Regions from separate parts of the Homo sapiens genome. Here region 1 is linked to region 2. The links are contacts of gene promoters, found by promoter capture Hi-C in human tissues and cell types (Jung and others, 2019). All regions are on one chromosome and are shown on one strand. Each heading gives the region's core, a stretch centred on a gene start or on the middle of the fragment in contact. The rest is flanking DNA. Distances are from core to core; before and after follow the strand shown.

What was found. Contacts are between HindIII fragments. The study calls those that stand out against the background at their distance.
Region 1: a fragment that was not itself captured here is called in contact with the fragment with the promoter of LTK in region 2 in 3 of the 25 tissues and cell types used here (IMR-90 fibroblasts, bladder and lymphoblastoid cells).

The regions. Positions count from the first base shown.
Region 1 is chr15:41,932,391-41,935,186 of GRCh38, forward strand. All of the region lies in intron 3 of EHD4 (EH domain containing 4), which reads right to left. Among named protein-coding and RNA genes, the nearest start is that of EHD4-AS1, 12 kb to the left of the region's middle. The HindIII fragment of the contact is 3,951 bases long and covers 1-2,796 here.
Region 2 is chr15:41,512,507-41,515,459 of GRCh38, forward strand. It overlaps LTK (leukocyte receptor tyrosine kinase), which reads right to left and starts at 1,321. Exons shown (of 20, transcript NM_002344.6): 1 at 1,161-1,321; 2 at 471-614; 3 at 201-372. The coding sequence starts at 1,203. RefSeq lists an enhancer at 153-900 and a silencer at 607-686. The HindIII fragment of the contact is 13,334 bases long and covers 1-2,953 here.

The sequences.
Region 1 (2,796 bases), core at 72-2,571, 420 kb after region 2:
CACTATCTTTTTGTAGCCTTTTGTCCCAAGCACATACACACCTACCCACCGCAGGGTGCTTCAGAAAGGTGAAACGCTGCATACATGGTCTGATTTGTGCTTTGCATCTCGATTTGGATTCCAACAGGAGGCAATTTTGAGAAAGAGACTAAGATTACAGGTGAATGGAGGTTTCTTGAGGAAACTGCATCAGGGCATGTGTGAGAAATATCCCTAGATACAAGAAAGAGGATTATGGCAAAAAGAATTGGAGGAGTGCCAGAAGCCGGGCCCCTCAGCCACACCCGGGAACACTGCTCCCGGGTCATTCTCTTCAGCAGGTTTCCCACCTCCAGCCCTTGTCTGCACTCTCGTGGCTTTCCATAGCTCTACGGTCAGGCCCAAATACTTCACGCACCCTCACCGCCCCTGCTTTGGATCTCTGGAAGAGCAAGGCCCTTGTCTGAGTCCCAGGACTCGGCCATCCTCTGCCCTCCCCTGGGAAATGCTGAGCGCTTGGCCGAGAGGGCCCTCTGAGCTGGGTCCGTCTATTCTGGGACCACCCCAGTTCTATAAAATGAATCATGACCGCCCCTATCACCAGTTATTAATCATGATCCATGTTAAATGGTTTACACATGTTATCTTCAAAACAACCCTGGGAAGGAAAATTCCCTCACTTTATAAAAGCGGAAAGAGGCTCACAGGGCCCCATGCTGGGATTCAAGCTCAGGTCAGCCTCCTCCAGGGCCCACAGGAGTGTGCCTGCATCTCCCCACCTCCCTCTGTCTTTCTAAGGAAAATACAGATGCTCCCTGAAAGCCTTGTTATTTTCAGCGTTTCCCCAACCACAGGCTTGTTTGGATGGTCGAGATGCCTGCCTGCCTGCCGGGCACAGGTACATGAAACCTGAATTCAAGCCACACGTGTATCCTGGGGAGGACCTTTTGCTGTTTCCCTCTCACTCTGAGCTTCATAGATAACAGGAACGGCTGATATCTATGGAGCACTTAGGTATGAACACAGATCATTCAGATTCTCGTAAGATCCCACTGTACGAGAGAAAGTACCTTCCCCTGTTTTAGAGCAGGGGAAAATGAAGCTCAAAGAGGTGAAGTAACTCGCCCAGGTTGCCCAGCTGGCAAGGGAAAGAGCCAGGGACAGGGAGAAACGTGCCCGGCCAGTGTTTCTCGGCATGGATTGCCACTGCCTCTCTTCCACCTAGAATCCTGCATTTATAATCTTTCCCTCCCACCTTCTAGGCTGGGGGTTCCCCACTGGTGCACAGTGATTAGGAGGGAGAGAAGCTTTACCACCTCTAGCAACAGGGATTGAGGCTGTGTAACAGGAATGTCCCCATAAAACCAGGGAAGGTTATTAAACGTTTCAAAGTGTACCTGAAAACTTAAAAAAATTCCTTCTTTATTTTCATTAGGGGTTCCTAAAAATCCTAGCTTCCGAAGTAGGCTAGGCGGGGGTGCTCCTGCAAGCAGTGAGACACAGACAGAGGACCCAGCATCAGGCCTCACGCCCTCCCTGTCAGACGCCCATGAGGCCGACAGGGTCACTTGGTGACTCCTGCGGGACAGTCACCTCTGCTTCCTTCCAAAGCCCTGCCCTGGAAGGAGGCTGGTTAGTCACAGAGCCTGCCCCACCCCATCGTCTCTCTCACTCAAGTTCTCCCCTCCGTTCTCTGAGAGGGCAGCCTTCACCCTCGGGCATACAGAGATGCAGGACAAAGCCCAGGTTGGTTTCGGTAGGTTCTCCAAGTTTGCCAGCCCCTTCTTTCACTTGTTTTGGGGATGGCAGGGTATGTAGGAGGGACAGGCTCAGGCTCAGGAGTGGTGGCTCAGCCCTAACCCAGATTCCTCAAAATGGGGCCCCCTGTATCAGAACCCTCTGGACCCTGCCCAGATGCCCCTGAACCATGTGCCAGGAAGTTTTTTTTTTTTTTTTTCAAATAAATAAATGGAGTTTTGCTCTGTTACCCAGGCTGGAGTACAGTGGCACAATTATAGCTCACTGCAGCCTCAAACTACTGGGCTCAAGGTTCTCTTGCCTCGGCCTCCCAAGGAGATAGGACTACGAGAACACACCACCACACCCAACTAATTTATTTTATTTTTTGTGGAGACTGGGTCTCTCTATGCTGCCCAGGCTGGTCTGGAACTCCTGCCCTCAAGTGATCCTCTCGACTCAGCCTCAAGTTCTAGGACTACAAGTGTGAGCCCCTCTGCCTGGCTGAAGCAGCATTTTAACAGCTCCCCAGGTGATAACTGTCTGTGGACCCTGGGGCTCACCGTGCTAGTCTTCCGAGCATCATTTGCAGCCGTGTGGACTCCAGAGCAGGAGGGGGCAGCAGGGAAAGGCTGGCCTAGAACATATATGCCACATGTATGACAGAGAAGGAAAGGACAGCAATTGCACGGCCGAAGGAAAGAGAAAAACCAGCAACCAAACACGCCCAGAGAACTGAGTGGCAGGCCCAGGGCTGTTCTTGCCCAGTACAGGAAGACCCGGACATTCCTAATAATTCTAGGTAATCAACAGAAGATTGAAAAAGACAATCCTTCAGTGGCTTCCTGGTACTCTCAGAGAAAAATCTATGCACTTCCCCAGGGCCTACAGCTCACAGCAGGTGGCGGGGGGGCCTCCTGATCTCATCACCCACCACTTCCTGGCTGCTCCCTAGCCTCTGCCTTCCCCGAATCTGCCAGGTCTCACCTACTCTCTGCCTTTGCCAATGCAGCTCCTCCTGCTGAAGAGCTCTTCCCCCAACTCTCTGCCAGGCAAACCCTCCATTCTTTACGTCCAGCC
Region 2 (2,953 bases), core at 71-2,570:
GGGGCCTTCCGCTCGGTGTAAGAGGTTCCGGGTAAGGGCTAACTCGGTGGCGACTACTGCCACCTTGAAGGGCACTCAAGGTGGACCTCCCCGCGGAATAGTCCAAGACGCAAGTCGGTGCGCACGTGGACTTCGTTACCCTGAGGGTGAAACCTCCAACTAGCAGGTCACTGTCCACCCTACCTCCGCCGTGCACTTACAGATACTGGCCAGGGCCCGGCACGCGCCACAGCTGCACGCCTCTCAGCTGCCCGGCGGCCCCCACGGTCACCACCACGCTGGTCCCCGCGTACGCCCCGTCACATTGTGTCTGTGTGGGCCCATGCCGGCCGCTGGCCCCGCAGGTAGAAAACAGCCAAGACCCCTCGGTGCCTGAGAGCAAGGAGCGAGGCAAGGGTCGTCGAGCCCCTGGCTGGGCCAGAGGGGTCTGGTATGGTGAGCGAAAGAGGAAGGAGGCGTCTAAAGCTCACCCGGAGAATTCAGCGGGGAGGCTGGCTCCAAGATACTAGGCGGGGCGCTGACTTTCGGGTCCCGGGGGCTGGGACTTGCCAGCGGCAGGGGCGAGGACCGCAGAAAAGTCTCCTGGGACCCCGGGCTAGAGCAGAGAATGGCGCCTGAAAGGTGTTGGGAGAAGGCGCAGGACGTTAAGGCGGGTGGAAATAGGATATGAAAGAAAGAGAGAACCCCGCAACAGCTGCCCTTGCGGTCGCGGCCACACCCGTCACCCGGCCCAGCCGCGCTCTCAGCCTGGAAGCCACTACCCGACTCCGGTCGCAGAAGCCCCGCGGGTGCGCGCTGATAGGTCTGCCAGTTTCTCTCCTCGAGCGCCTTTCCCAGTGAATAACTTAGGGGCCGCAATGAATTTGGTCCTGCAGCCTCCCCAATGCTTTCCTCAACTTAGATTGGTGGCCCCGCCCCAAGGCGGTGCTGAGACCCCAAAGAATGTTCCTCCTTCCCAAGCTGCGTGATCCAGACTCTGGGATTCGCACGCACTTGGCGCTTCTCGGCCCGCACTCCAGAAGCACGGACCGGAGAAATTTGGCTGTGAGAGTTCGAGGCCTCTGGAGGAACCACTGACACCTGGCCTGTTGACCGGCCACCCCCAAGCCTAGGAAAGTGCCTCAGGCTGGACGGTCCCCTGACCGCCAGATAGCACTTACCCGCGGCTCCGAACCACACCAGCAGCTGTCCCCAGCAGCCCATCCCTGTTGGGTCCACCCGGCAACAAAAGCCCTTGCGGTCGCGGCCACACCCCTGTCAACCTAAAGTTGACAGCTCATTTTGCCACGGCAGCCCTGGCCACCACTTACAGGGGTGTGCTGCCGCTGGCGAGACACTCCCCGGACCTAAAGCTGGTCTGGCCACGCCCACCTCAGACCCCAGGACGCCAGAGGAGGAAAGGGAGGGGCGTGTGGGCAGCGAGGTCCCTACGCTTCCGGGAGGAGCCTTAAGGAGTCCCCACCCAGGGGTTCTAGTTTCCAGCCGTCAGATGTGCCGCAGCCTGCTGGGAGCTCCGGTAGGTTTGAGGCCGGAGAGGAGGTGCCCCACGCTTAAAGTGGGAGCCACACCTCGGACACCAGGTGGGGGCTTCCAGGTTCCTGAGGACAGGAGCAGTGGAGTGTGCACTTCATTTGTGGCAGTGGTGGTGGTGGTGAGTGTGTGGCATGCGTCACCACACGTGGGAAGTACTCTAAACTGCTCCAAGTAAGGCCTCATTACCTGCCATTACTTGTGCCTTTTAGTGGTGCCTTTGTGACTGCAAGGCTGAACCTCATTGCTACTCCCAGAAACCTGGATCTCTGTGTTTGCCTCATATAATTCCGTTGCCTGTGTTACCCCTGTGCACAGCCTCTCACTGTGATGGGGTGAAAGACTGGACCAGACGTTAGAAGATCCGAGTGTTTTTAGTAGCACTGAAGGTCAATAGATGATAGGTAGGTAGACCGATCGATCGATTGATCTTGAGCACTAGTACTGGCACCTCTGGTCAATGGGTGATGTAGCACAGGCCACAACTGCCCTGAGAGTTTCCCCACCACCTGCAAAATCATATGAAGGGAAATTGCTCTGTAAGGTACCCTACAAATGTGGGAGCCACTCCCTTCAGGTAGTTTTGTGTCTTGAGTCTTCGATCATTTGCTTAAATGATCATTTGCCGGGTGCGGTGGTTCATGCCTGTAATCCTAGCACTTTGGGAGGCTGAGGCGGGCAGATCACCTGAGGTCAGGAGTTCGAGACTAGCTAGACCATCATGGCAAAATCCCGTCTCTACTAAAAATACAAAATCAGACACACGTGGTAGCGCACGCCTGTAATCCCAGCTACTCTGGAGGCTGAGGCAGGAGAATGGCTTGAACCTGGGAGGCAGAGGTTGCAGAGACGAGATCGCACCATTGCACTCCAGCCTGGGCAACAAGAGCAAAGCCCCATCTCAAAAAAAAAAAAAAAAAAAAAATCCTAACTTGAAAGTCTGAGACCTATGTTTAATACAAAATACTTCAAAAGAGAAGTTATAGTAGTTAGCTACTTGGTAAAGTCTGAGTATAATTCAAGGTGTAAACAGAACAGTGATTTTGTAAAAAGTCTGGTCTCAGCCAGGCGTGGTGGCTTACACCTGTAATCCCAGCACTTTGGGAGGCCAAGGGGACGGTGGGGGTGGGGTGGATCACAAGGTCAGGAGTTCAAGACCAGCCTGGCTAAGATGGTGAAACCCCGTCTCTACTAAAAATACAAAAATTAGCCGTGCGTGGTGGCAGGTGCCTGTAATCCCAGCTACTTGGGAGGCTGAGGCAGAGAATTGCTTGAACCTGGAAGGCAGAGGTTGCAGTGAGCCGAGATTGCACCACTACACTCCAGCCTGGGTGACAGAGTGAGACTCCATCTCAAAAAAAACAAAAAACAAAAAAACCCTGGTCTCTATGCCCTACTTAACACTAGATATCACACTATGAGA